2 separate regions of the Homo sapiens genome follow, and region 2 is linked to region 1. Evidence: promoter capture Hi-C in human tissues and cell types (Jung and others, 2019). All regions are on one chromosome and are shown on one strand. The core of a region is centred on a gene start or on the middle of the fragment in contact, and the rest is flanking DNA. Distances in the headings are between cores, read along the strand shown. Region 1 holds the start of ANXA2 (annexin A2). Region 2 has its middle 120 kb from the start of FOXB1.

Region 1 (6,923 bases), core at 1,672-4,171:
GGATAATTTGTTATACTGCAAAGGTAACTGATACGAGGGCCTTGGGTGCATTATTTAATCCCTGGACTGGGCAGGAGATTTTATTTGGACTCCAATTTCTTCATATGTAAAAATCAAGAGCCGGGTATAGTAATTCACGCCTGTAATCCTAGAACTTTGGGAGGCTAAGGTAGGCAGATCACTTGAGCCCAGAAGTTCGGGACCAGCCTGAGCAGCATAGCAAGACTTTGTCGTCTCTACAAATAATAGAAAAATTAGCCAGGCTTGGTGGCGTGGGCCTGTGGTCCCAGCTACTCAAGAGGCTGAGAGGAGAGGATTTCTTGAGCCTCCGCAGTCAAGGCTGCGGTGAGCCCTAATCATGCCATGCGTTCCAGCCTGGGTGACAGTGTGAGATCTCAACTAAAAGATATAAGAATAATAATAGTAAAAATCAAGGATAGGGCAATTTAATCTCTAGGGTCCCTCCCTGCTTTAACATTCTATTATTCAGTGAATAATTGTATTTTATCATTCTATCACATTTAGTGAGTGCCTATCATTGCTAGCTAGGCGCTAGTAGGTGTTGAGTGCAGCAGATGAAGTGTGAACAAAACAAAGTCAAGCACTTAGAGAGCAATATGGACAACAGCAGACAATCTGAGGGCTGATGTAAACATTCTCCTCAACCAGGGGGGAAAATAGAGTCTTCTGACTAATAAAAGATCTTTTATACTGGAAGAACTGGCCTCACATTCCTCAGAAATAGCAAACTATGACTTCTAATAGCTTCATTTTTATGATAACATCAGTGCACATTTCTTTAGCATGATGCAAAGACTGGTGATTGTACAAATCTATAGAAGTTAGAATTTGTGGCATGCCCAAGATGAGCACAAAACTCTTTTGGACATTTGATGGCTTTTATATATTCCACATGATTTGAATTAAATTTTATCTTCTGTAAAGGGCCTATCACAGCACGATTAGGAGTAAGAGACTGTGGAACCTATCTTGAGATACACAGAAGGGAGGCTGAATCGTGCCCAATATTACTGTCTGCCTGTGTTCCCCTAACCTTCCAAAATGTTCACACAAAGTAAGCAGATAAACATTGTTTCTGACTTTGAAGCTTTCAGGCTAAATTGAAGAGCTATAAATGTAAATCAGCAATTGTACCCAAAGTGTTGCTTGATTTTCTATTTGGCTCTGTGGTAGGGCCCATCGCGTATAATTCCTCGTGAAAGCGCTGGGTAACAGAAAGCTTTGGGCGGGTTAAAAGACCTCAGCTGTGGCCGACTTTGCCTGTGTCACTCTATGCGAGTGGGCAGAGCACTGAATGTCTGTTGGCCTTGCTATCATTCTCTGATTCCCAGGAGTGAATTGACGCTCAAATGGAAAGTAAAAATGGATGTTAAGATAAATGGGAGATTGAAACACAGAATCATCAAAACCAGGAAAAAGAGCTGCAGGAAGTAGTGTGCAAGGAGGGGTTTAAAAAACGCAGCCAGAGATCCTCGGGATTCTCAGCGTCGCTTTCCTGTTAGTTTGAGGTTCGAATACAGTATTTGCGTCGTCTCACATACAACAAATAGGTGTCTGCCTGCACGTTGCCAACGTGACTCTTGGAAGAAAAGCGAGAAGCAGCAAAACCGAGCAAGGGAGTTGGCTAAACGGCTGCAAGAAACACACACACACACACACACACACACACACACACGGAAGAAAAGCGAGAAACAGCAAAACCGAGCAAGAGAGTTGGCTAAACGGCTGCAAGAAACACACACACACACACACACACACGGAAGAAAAGTGAGAAACAGCAAAACCGAGCAAGGGAGTTGGCTAACTGGCTGCAAGAAACTCTCTATCTCACTCTCTCTCTCTCTCTCTGTGCTGCAAGAAACTCTCTCTCTCTCTCTCTCTCTCTCTCTCTCGGAAGAAAAGCGAGTAACAGCAACACCGAGCAAGGGAGTTGGCTAAACGGCTGCAAGAAACACACACACACACACACACACACCACACACGCACACACACACCCCAGCAGTCATGAAAGAAGGAGAGGAAAGTTCTTTGTTGAAACTCCGGGTTCGAAACACACACACACACACACACACACACACACACACACACACACACACACACACGAAACTCCGGGTTCAAAGCTATGGGCCCCACCCCGCTCAGGACTGCCTGCTACGAGGCCGCGCAGAGATGCCCCAGGCGCGGAGAGAAGCGGAGCACAGCCGTGCTAGGGACAGGGGCGCCACCCTGGGCGGGACTGAGGTGGGATCCTGGCTCCCGGCTTTGGCCTCCCAGCCCAGGCTCGGGGCTTCCTGGCCCTCGGAGGCCGGGGCGGGCCAGGCTTTGCAGCACAGGGCGAATCTCCCTCCCTCCCCGGGCGCCCCCCGGGAACTGGCGGCCAGAGGTTAAGCTGACATGTTTGCAGACGGTAATGGGGCGCTGGATGCCAACAGCCCCAGCTCAGGGGAGTCCAGATTTATGTTTCTTGGAACAATTCTTTCCTCCATTGCATTAACGCCAAAAAAAAAAAAAAAAAAAAAAAAACACTTAATCAAGCCCAGAGTCTACTACTAAAGTCTTGTTAATTTATTAACCCAAGCCGAGGCTGAGAGCTCGACGTGGCACTTAAGAAGTAAAATGAGGAAAGGAGGAAGAAACGGGGTCCCTGTGGGCCTCGGGGCAGCCTCGGCCGGGCTTTCTCGGAGGGCAGGGCCAGGGGCGCTGGGGCCGCTCCCGCGTGGCGCGGCTCGGGAGCGTTCCAGGGCGCGGTCCCTGCGGGCCGGCGGGCCGGGGTGAGTCACCCCTGACTTGGGGTGGGAGCGGGCCGTGTAAGGGGGAGGCGGGGCGGGGCGGGGCGGGCCTCGCCTCGCCTAGGGAGGATGTGGCGGGTATAAAAGCCCCACCCAGGCCAGCCGGCTCTGCTCAGCATTTGGGGACGCTCTCAGCTCTCGGCGCACGGCCCAGGTAAGCGGGGCGCGCCCTGCCCGCCCGCGATGGGCCGCCAGCTAGCGGGGTGTGGAGACGCTGGGAAGAAGGGTACGGCCTGGCAGGGAGGCCCCGGCAACTGGCCCCGGAGGCCGTCGGGGGCAGGGGGCTGAAGGGACGGCCGGCACTGGAGAGTCTTTGGGGAGGGGGCTCAGGGACAAGGTGTTTGGGGCAGGGGTGAGGGGCCACCGGCCCTCGGGCCGGGAGGGTGCAGGGCAGAGGTGGTGGGGGGTCGGGCTTCTCTAAGAAGCCCTAGCGGGAGCGGGGCGAGGCGGCGTGGGGAGAGGGGCGGAGGGAGGCCCCGCATTCCAGACGCGCCAGGCGCCGCCGAGGCAGGGCGTGGCCGCCCAGGGAGCCGCAGGTCCCCGGCGCAGCAGTAGCAAGTGGGCTTTCCACTGCCCTCTAGAAAGTGCCCCCCATCTGCTCTAAGTTACTGTACTCGAAACAAACGCGCGCTTGTGGAGTTGAACCGACCAGCAGGAGGGAAGTAGCGGGGGAAGACGAGAGGGGGGAGTGTGAGTAGGCACCCCTCAGCCCCCCATAAAAGAAGACATTAAAACGTCAGTTATTCCCCTTGCTCTAGGTTATCTTGTAGCATAGCAACTTCGGATTTCACTCTACCCGGAGAGTTTCCCGCTTGGTTGAACACATTGGCCTCAGGAAGGTAGTGTCCCCCATGATTCTGTGGGGAGGGTTGTCCTGTTACTCGCCATGATGTGACAATGAGTCAGGAACTGAGAGTAGAGAGAAGGGCGTGGCCCCGGGGCCTCTCCCTTCTGGCCGCTCTGTGCAGCTGGCCCCACTGCTGGTGTGGAGGGCTTGGGTTCCATCAGCCGGCTGTTGAGAAGAAGGAGGGGAACACAGATAAGTTTCCTCATCTGGGAAGGTGGCTTAAGGATGCCTATTCTTACCACCACCCAGAGTTATTGGAGATTTCAAAAAACACAGTCATTAGGTAATAAATGTGTAAAGTACACAAAAAACAAAGTGCTGTGCAAATGCAAAGTGTCATTTTTGTAGTAAGATTGCCGTTTTAAAGCTGTGGGTGTTCTGAGTGCGTGTGTAAAAGAGCAGTGGCCTCATGGGTGCACGCTGGGCCATTACCAAGAACCTTAAGTTGTTGGTGTGCAAAGGCCTGGGCCCCAGACTGTACTGATGGATTCTGTTCACACGTGTGTGCTACTGTGCCTGTCTGGAACTTGGTGACTTGGAATGCAGAATGCACTTTCCCACTGAAACAGTGTTGCAGAAGGTGCTGACGTTCCCAGGCTAGCCCTGAAAGACCTTTTTAACATGCACTGCCTGATTATGGGATTGGTGGTGGGGAGGTGGAGGGTAGTGAGGGGCAATGTGTGTGTAGGAAGACTAAATCACTGAAATATTTTTCTGGAACTTTTTTTAGCTTTAAGGTTGACACTGAGTAAATTATTTTAATTGGAAAATTATGTCTTTGCCCCTGTTCCACTTTCTTTTTTCCACCTTCCACCTCCTTAGAGACGCTCTTCTGGCTCTTCCGTGACGCATTACAACAGCCATCCAGGCCGGTCCAGTTACGCTGCATTCCTTCCTCCTTCCCATTTCGGCGGACCTGCATCCAGCTAGAGACTAGCAGATTGAATCGATATTCATTAAGTTAGGAATGGTTGGTGGTCCTAAGAGCCTCAGCAACCGAGAGGAGTCTTGTTATTTAAAAAACAACGATACTGGGCGTGGTCGTGGGCCTGTAGTCCCAGCTGCTCAAGCTAGTGGATCTCTTGAGTCCAAGGCCAATGTGAGCAACATAGCAAGACCCAGTCTCAAAAAATAAATACATAATAATAATAAAAAACCCTCGTTCACCTAAACAGATCTATAATTTATAGAATGTAAAGCAGCAATATTCAGGCAATATTAAGGAAGATTTTTGGTAAGACTGGGGCAGCAGAGGTGCCCTTGATGGGCAAGGGCCAGGAGTGTTAACACAGTCCTGCTTAGTAATTTCTTCCCTTCTTCCAAGTCTGTCGATTATCTAAAGGTCAAGGGTTTGTCCAAAAATGTCCCTTGCATCTGCAGTGGAAGGATGTGACATGTATGTGCATTTTTACAATTGGAGGTTTGTGATTTGGAGACCGTTTAGATTTTGTAATTTCCCGCAGTGCCAACTAGACTGCCTGTGGTAAATGCCCAGGAAATATTGCTGACTCACTGACTTTGATTAGGAGCTCAGTCTTGCACTGGAGTCTCAATATTTAGCATCTTGTGTCTTTGAGCTATTAAACTATGGTATTGATTGACATTAGGCTCGCAGTCATGGCCGTTAGTTTCCTGGCTAATTTCTGATTTAAGTAGTTTTCCTGGCAAAGTAGATGTGCTTCTATAATTGCTATTGATTTTGAGGGCTGTAGGCTCTTCCTACACCACTGGGCCTAGAATCTGGCACTAATGCATTGTCTGGAGCCTTTGTTCTCACCCTTCGCTTGTGCAGAGCCTGGAGCCTGCGGAGACATTTTTCATTAAAGGAGAGCGGGATTGTCACAAAAGGAGTCTCAGGCTCTAGTGGGCTGCTTTAAACAACCATTTATTCCACAAAATATTAATTACCTACTGTGTTCCACTCATAGTTATGAGCACTAGGGATACAGCAGTGAACAAAACAGACCCCCGCCAAAAATAAAATCCCTGCTCTTTAGACCTTAAATCTGGCGGAGAGAGAAGGAAAAGAGACAAAATAAGTGAATTGTTGGATTTTAAACTTTATATTTTCCCAAATTAATACTAGTTTCTAAACTTGGTGGGAGTTCATTTCCCCTTTAATCCAGCTGTTCCACAGACCTAAACTTCACATTTTACCTACCTCGGGGAAGTTTTGCTTAAAATTATGGTGTCTTAAGCTGCCTTCCAGATTCAATTGTGAGAATTAAATAGAAATGGAATGTTCCTCTTTTTTTTCACATGAGAATCCTCTTCACTTGCCCTGGTGCCACACCCTATTCTAGTTGTAGGCCACACCAGAGGAAATTCCAGTCCTTCAAAAAAATTCTTTCCACCCATTCACTGCCTGGTATCTTTTTTCTTCTGCTGTTGCCAGAGGCAGTCCTCATCTACTTTCTCCAGGGACAGGTCAGCAGTAGGGGTCAGGAGATGCCCATATTTGTCCTTCTGGGTGGTTCTACCAGATGACTTCCAAATCTCCCTTCTAGGGTACACCCTGAAGCTGTTTTTTTTTTTCTTTTTTTTTTCTTTTGAGATGGAGCCTGGCTCTGTCACCCAGCCTGGAGTGTAGTCGCACGATCTCTCCTCACTGTAGCCTCCGCCTCCCAGGTTCAAGTGATTCTCCAGCCTCACCCTCCCGAGTAGCTGGGATTACAGGTGCCTACCACCATGCCGGGCTAATCTTTGTATTTTTAGTAGAGACAGGGTTTCATCATGTTGGCCAGGCTGGTCTGGAACTGTTGAGCTCAAGTGATCCGCCTGTCTCGGCTTCCCAAACTGCTGGGATTACAGGCGTGAGCCACTATGCCTGGCCCACCCTGAAGCTTTTAATCCAGCTGAGCTCAACTGGACAGGTCGGTAGCACCCAAGTGGCCTGAGTTTTACCCCAGGTGTGGTGTAGAAATTTCTTATTCTAGGGAGTGACTGTGTTATGGAGCCCTTTGTCCATGTCCTTTGTCTCCCTGCCACACCCAGGCTATACACTCACAGCTCAGAGGAAATCAGAGTCCTAAGGCCACTCGTACATCCTGCCTCTTTGCTGCCTTCTTGCTAGGAGTTGTAGGTTACGTTCCCATGTGGTCCTATGGACAGAGCTAGGGTCCAAGTATCCCTGACAGCACAGAGGTGGGGGGCATGGCTATATGTTGATAAGAGGCTGCCCTGAAGCGACCTGCTGGGCTTTGCTAAGATTTGCAGAAGTTGGTGATTTAAGCCTCCAACTCTGAATGCACGGAACTGGAACTGCA
Region 2 (6,682 bases), core at 1,128-3,627, 520 kb after region 1:
AGCCTCCCGAGCAGCTGGGATTATGGGTGCACGCCACCAAGCCTGGCTAATTTTTGTATTTCTAGTAGAAATGGGGTTTCACCATGTTGGCCAGGCTGGTCTCAAACTCCTGACCTCAAGTGATCCACTCGCCTCAGCCTCCCAAACTGCTGGGATTACAGGCGTGAGCCACTGTGCCTGGCCTTGCTCTAGCATCTCTTGCTCTGCATCTTTATAAGCCAGCAAAGTGAGTAACAGTAGCATTAGCATTCCTGGGTAGTAGCATTCCTGGAAGACAACCCTATACCAGGATGGCAAGCAATATCTTAACTACATAGAAGAGACCATGAACTACATTAATATGATCCACAGAACCCAACTTAAATGGATCTCCAAATCAACTTCCTTTTAGCTGGATCCCCCAAGATGCTCGTGACCACTTTAACACCACACATCATGAGGGGCAGTAGGATACAGGGAAAATTAGGTTAGAAACAGTAAGTGACTTAACCACTTGTTATGCAAATGTTACAAGCACATATGACCATGGGAACAAATTGCAAGAGCCCCTCACAGGATCTTGGAAGGGATTTTGCAAGTGAGGGCCCTCAAAGCTTAATCTTTGTTAGCTTCACAGCTAATCAGCCGCTGCTTAGGAATTGTGGGATGTGGGTAAACCAATCACCTGCTTCCTCCTTGACCTGGAAGCCCCCTGCACTAATGTGAGTCAGCCAATCCCTTCCTCCAGACTGCCAGGCCCCACACGGCCTCCCCACCATCAGACTTCTCTGCCTGAGCCCAGATCAGGCCTCCCTCCTCCATCTCTCCTGACCTTAACTCAACACTGTTTCCTCTCCTCCAAGAATACCAGGTGCAATTTTTTTTTCCCATTTGTTTTTATTTTCGGGAGTCATCAGTTGATTTTTTTTACATTGCAAACCCCATTTTATTTCTGTCACTATTCTATCTATCCTATATTCTGCCTATATTAATTCTGCTTCTAGATTTGTTTTTTTTTTTTTTTTTTTTGACAAAGAAGTTCCCCCAAAATGCATCCTGTCTGTTTCATGGATGCATTACTTTGTGGAAATTTAGTAGAGCTCTTGGCTCCTGATGCTAGGGACCTCTGTTTTGCTATTATCCCATAGGGTCATTATTTATCTTTGTTTTTTGTTTGTTTGTTTGTTTGTTTATTTTTTGAGACAGAGTCTCGCTCTGTCGCCCAGGTTGGAGTGCAGTGGCACAGTCTCGGCTACTGCAAGCTCCGCCTCCCAGGTTCACGCCATTCTCCTGCCTCAGCCTCCCAAGTAGCTAGGACTCTGGGACTACAGGCGCCTGCCACCACGCCTGGCTAATTTTCTTTTTTGTATTTTTAGTGGAGACGGGGTTTCACCATGTTAGCCAGGATGCTCTCCATTTCCTGACCTCGTGATCCGCCCGCCTCGGCCTCCCAAAGGGCTGGGATTACAGGCGTGAGCCACCGCGCCTGGCCTTATCTTTGTTTTAATCTGTCTCTGACTGAACGATTAGTGCAGTGAAAGAGTCAGGAGTCTTGCAGTTTCAAGTGATGTATGTCTCAACTCAACATAGCTTATGCAGAATGGAAAAATGGTTGTGGTTCATGTAACTGAGATGTCCAAGTTTGGTTTTGACTACAAACACAGTAGGACCCAAGGGCATAAACAGCATTGCCATCTTTTTCTTTATCTCTTGGCTCTGCTTCTCCCGATGGGGTGGCCTTACTCTCTTCCACTGTAGATGCGCATTGAGGTCCACAGTTACCTAGGCACTCCAGGCTTACATTATCATAGCCCATGATGTAAGAGGGGAAAAAAAAGTCTGTCTTTCTTGGTGTGTTCTATTAAATCTCATGAAATGACTCTAATTAGCTCAGTCTTGGTCACATGCCCTTCTCTTGGCCTAATCTGAATAGACAGGGTATGGCCAGACCATGCTCACTTGCCTACTCCTGTCTTCAGAAAGCTGGGCATCACAATTGGCACTTGCTCTTCAGCACTGATAACTGGAGTGCAGAGAAGTCCCCCAAAGAAACAGGGCGGCATCCTAGACAAATCAAAATGACATACATGCCCTACTCATAGGTAAAGCTAAATGCTATTGACAAATGGAAATGTTTTCATTAAACTTCACATAATTTATTTCTTGCTTCCCTAAATCTGCAATTTTATTTCATCATTGTGAAAGTCATTTAAAATTAGCCTGACATACAGAATCTTTGGTATTCTATTATATGCCTACATTTCAATTAGGTCCTTGTTGTAGGTCAGTTTCCCGGGAAACAGATTCTGAGACTCTGAGATTTATGTACAGAGCAGGGAATGAAGGAGGCAGAATCGGGCAAAGGAGAAAGGTAAACTGCCATGTAGTGATATTTTGGGAGCTTTGGAACATGGATGGTCCTTCAGCATTGTCCCAATTGAGGTAAGGAGGTTATAGCCTCCTTTGACCACCTTTGAATGGCAGCTGCCCCAAGGAGCCTGTGGCTGATGACAGTTTCTGGAGAGGACTCAGCTGTGAGCCATCAGTAGCCAACACTCCCAGCAGCTGGGAAAGTGAATTGCTAGGTCCTGAAGGGGAATTTGAGTAGCATACCACTGCATACACTTCGGTGGATTTTCAAACAGTGGAAACAAGGCTCATGTAATCCTAATATTTAATTTTTTTTTTTTTGAGACAGAGTCTCGCCCTGTCACCCAGGATGGAGTGCAGTGGCGTGATCTCAGCTCACTGCAACCTCCGCCTCCCAGGTTCAAGCGATTCTCCTGTCTCAGCCTCCAATGTAACTGGGATTACAAGCGCCCACCACCATGCCTGGCTAATTCTTTGTATTTTTTTTAGTAGAGACAGGATTTCACCATATTGGCCAGGCTGGTCTCGAACTCCTGACCCTGTGATCCACCCACTTCAGCCTCCCAAAGTGCTGGGATTACAGGCGTGAGCCACGATGCCTGGCCCTAATATTTAAATATTAAAGGCCAAGTGTGGGCAGATAGATTCTCATATATGTTATCACTTATATGTATTAAAGTGATATAAAAGAAAAATTTTATATCTTTTAATATTTTTCTTTTAATACTGAGTCATTCAGTTTAGAATCTGTATTTTAAACTCTTTCTTCCAGTATGATAAATGTTCTTTGTTGTTTCCAAATGCATGATGTAAATTCCAATTCTGATGTAGCCTATAGAATCTCTATAAACATGACTTAAAGATACAAAGCAGGCCAGTGTTTATGTTGCTGTCTTGTACGCAGACCTGGAACCCCTGCCTGCTTGGAAGAGAGCTAAATGTATGGTAGTCCCTCAAATCTTGGGCTTTTTCAGACCAGGGTTGGCAAGATAACTGCACTCAAGACTCCCCTATCCTTAGTATGCTTTCCTTTCAGCCTCCCGGCCTTCCTGACAGCTATCAGCCTAGTCAATTGGACTTGGCAGGTGCGAGGAATCCAATTTAGCATCCCTGGTTTAGACCTTGAGCAATCTGCACTCACAATTCACCTACTTAGCCTCTTTATCCACATCTCCTAGTTTTTGACCTGTTTTGGCACTAATTACCCTCATCCCCCCAATTTTAGAATAAGAGGCCTTTGGACTTGTTCCCTTACATCAAATCCTGGGATTGACTCAACATGCAGGTTGGATTTTCCTCCAGTTGGCCCATCCAATTATAGGCAGATCTCATGCTGTCTCTGCAACACTCTTGACCTCCCTACCAACATTTCTAATCAATCAGGTGACTTCCCATTTGAGCGGAGGTGTAAATGTGTTTAAAGCAGGGATCACATCTGGCATTCCAAGGGCTAGATCTGTTAAGCAGCCAAGTTTTATTTGCCTATACCATGTTTTAAAAAAATTGAGCCAATATTCAACAATTTGGAAATTTCATCCACAATAAAATCCAATTTCTCTCTTCTCTTAAAAAAATTGGATGATCCAGCAATGCAAACAAGCATTTCTACCCAGCAACACTTGGCTGAAGATGAAGAACTACTGCCTCCAGCTCACCCAGTTCCACACTCACAGTTGTGTTATGCCTGCTCTTTCCAGTCACTTGTGTTGCCTGCCTGGGTTCTGCAGTTTACAACCCTGGTTTAAATTAGTATCCCTCCCAGGTGATACTTGACATCCAGTGCAAGTTATTGGCAGTAAAGAAGGGCCAAAAGCCTGATGCAATCAAAGGAGAGGTAAAGAAGAAAATCAAACCCTGGGTTTTCTATAACATATTTCCAGATGCAGAAAAACAAGGCTTGTCTTCTTTGCTGATTTCACAGAACAAATGGCATTCCATCTGTGAAATGCACTGTGGTTTTCAGCAGAGACAGTCCAGAGTGAATCATTTGTAACCTCTGCCACTTGTTACATATCTGTTACCAAGGAGTAGACTGGGGAAAGTTTAGGAAACTACGTGGCATGTTCCGTCCTTCTGGGTTATGGATGCTGCCAAGTGAAAATGTGAGATGTGTTGCCAAAGACAACACAGTCTTTTATTTGACACAGAAAAAAGCAACATTCTGATTTCCCTGTCTTAAGAACTGTTTCCTCTACAATCTGGCAAGGCATGCTTATGGAACTCATGGCAACCTGCTCCAGGTAGACTTTTTTCTTATTTTAAGGCTTACAGCAGATGAAGAGAACACAGGAGGAAAGGAATTAAAAATGAATTGCTTCAGAGTAGCGGAGGTACTACTGGTGATAGATAGGTGGGAAAAGGTGAATGGGTTTCCCAGTGCAACGTGAGAAATATTATTTTGTTTATACTCCCTATCAATTTTAAAAAGGAAAATACCTTCCTCTGGCTCTTATTAATTTTTAAAACCAAAATACCTCCATCCAGATATTCTAGTTTAAGTATGTCTTCAAATCAGTTATAATGTTTTCCTGCTTTAAAAAGTGGGGGTTGGGGGGACACGTTAAACTACAGAAGCATAGTTGTCGGGGGGTGGAGGACTGTCTTCCTTGCAGGATTGGGGATTAAGGGGCTGATGCATTTGCAGACTTCATTATGTTAAGTACTCTGCTTAGAGGTTGGTTCAATCTCTGCTCCCTCCACCCTACCCCCACGCCTTCTCTTGGCACATTACTTCTTGTAACATACATTTCTTAATTTAATGAGTTCATTAGTCTGTTATAGCTTTTCCATAGCTAGAATTGGCCAGAGCAGTGATGAATGGTTTATCAGGAAAGTAGCTCAAGGGTAGGCCTTCATAGATACTGTGCAGTACCTTAATCAGGAAATCCAAAGGGCTGCTGGTGGGGAGGGGGAGGGAAGGACATTTGGATCACGGGAGAATTTCTTCCCCTGGGTCTCCTGATTCAGAAACATTAAAAAATCTAATGCAGCTTTATTCTCCATCCTCCTTTAAGCTCTAAATATCTGTCTTTTGGGCATGGGCTGTAATAGACTAGGGCTTTAGGACCAGTTTCTCTGAGAATCAGCCAGTGTTCAAGAAGGGCCCTTGACACCATTCTGACTTAATGCTAGACACATCTGCAGCTACTTGGACAAAATTGACATTGTCTGGAGTGCAAAGCAATTGCCTAGCACAGCATTAGGGAGCATTTACTCTTGAGCCGTGCTACCAGACAGCAAATCTTGACCTTTAGGAGTTCAGAGATTAGATTTCGTTGTTGCAGGCGTTGAAGATATTGTTAGGAATTTCTTGCTATTCAAAGCAGATTTCAGGGGTTACCTATGGGTTTAATTCATCACATCAATCATTTTTTGGAAGGTTCTTTTAAAGCCAAGATAGCTTCAAATAAAAACTAGGATTACTTTTACATTGATTGTCGGTAGTTGGTGAGGAGCAAAGGGGGAACACTCTTGAGATGCTGTTAAAGTTTTCGTATTTGTTCCTTTGCTAGCAGGCATTCTGTGGTATTGGGGAGAAAGGCATGTTTCTCCAATAGGCATTCAAAGCAGTTGCTGCAGGAACAGGCAGGAAATGAGAATAAGGATTTGACTACCCTCTGGTGTAGATCTCTCAAGCCCTTTAACACATTCAGTGCACAGATCTCCTGCGGGTTATCTCAAAGTGCATCGTTTAAAACAAGACCTGTTTAAGCCAATAGGGGTTAAATAGGGCTTATTTTGTTGAACCAGCCTGTATAGGTACCCAGTCCCACCCTCTGTTTGTGTATGGGTGTGTCTCTGTGTGTGCATATATAGAATGTGCATGTGTGCACACATGTGCGTATGGACAACTTCTTTTATTTGGAGGTCAGTTTCCCACCCCTCTTGATCCCAAAGGTGTACGGAAAAGATTTCTGAGGGTCTCTGAAAAGGAAGTGCTGTACAGTGCTGGACTCCAGCCATGTGCTTCTTTTAGAAGACTTTCACAATGATCCTTACTGATTTTTATTTACCTTGCAATTGCTATTCAGAATTTTTACTCAGTTCTCTAATCCATAGTCGATCAAATACCTTGAGACCTTATCTTCATTGTATCTGTTCACCTCTCCAAATTTGCTTCTTATTTCTCAAAGAGGGAGTTTGCACTAGATAATCCTATAGCACTGATTTTATTGCAGCTAGGTGATAGGAGCACTTTTCAAGGTAGGTGCAGTAGCAACAAAAGAAACAACTAGAGCCTAGGAAGGGAGGGGTTGCATACTCTAGCACAGGTAGCGAGCTGCCACCCCATGGCATAATAATGGGGAACTGAGACATCAATGAATGGTTACCT

The links. Contacts are between HindIII fragments. The study calls those that stand out against the background at their distance.
Region 2: a contact is called between a fragment that was not itself captured here and the fragment with the promoter of ANXA2 in region 1, in 1 of the 25 tissues and cell types used here (H1 embryonic stem cells).

What each region holds. Positions count from the first base shown.
Region 1 is chr15:60,393,984-60,400,906 of GRCh38, reverse strand. It overlaps ANXA2 (annexin A2), which reads left to right and starts at 2,921. Exons shown (of 13, transcript NM_004039.3): 1 at 2,921-2,964. RefSeq lists silencers at 2,189-2,498, 2,619-3,158, 3,229-3,368 and enhancers at 3,529-3,718, 3,739-3,788, 3,849-3,898, 3,392-3,983, 3,984-4,575. The HindIII fragment of the contact is 12,062 bases long and covers 1-3,870 here.
Region 2 is chr15:59,877,404-59,884,085 of GRCh38, reverse strand. No RefSeq gene overlaps it. Among named protein-coding and RNA genes, the nearest start is that of FOXB1, 120 kb to the left of the region's middle. The HindIII fragment of the contact is 5,189 bases long and covers 1-4,971 here.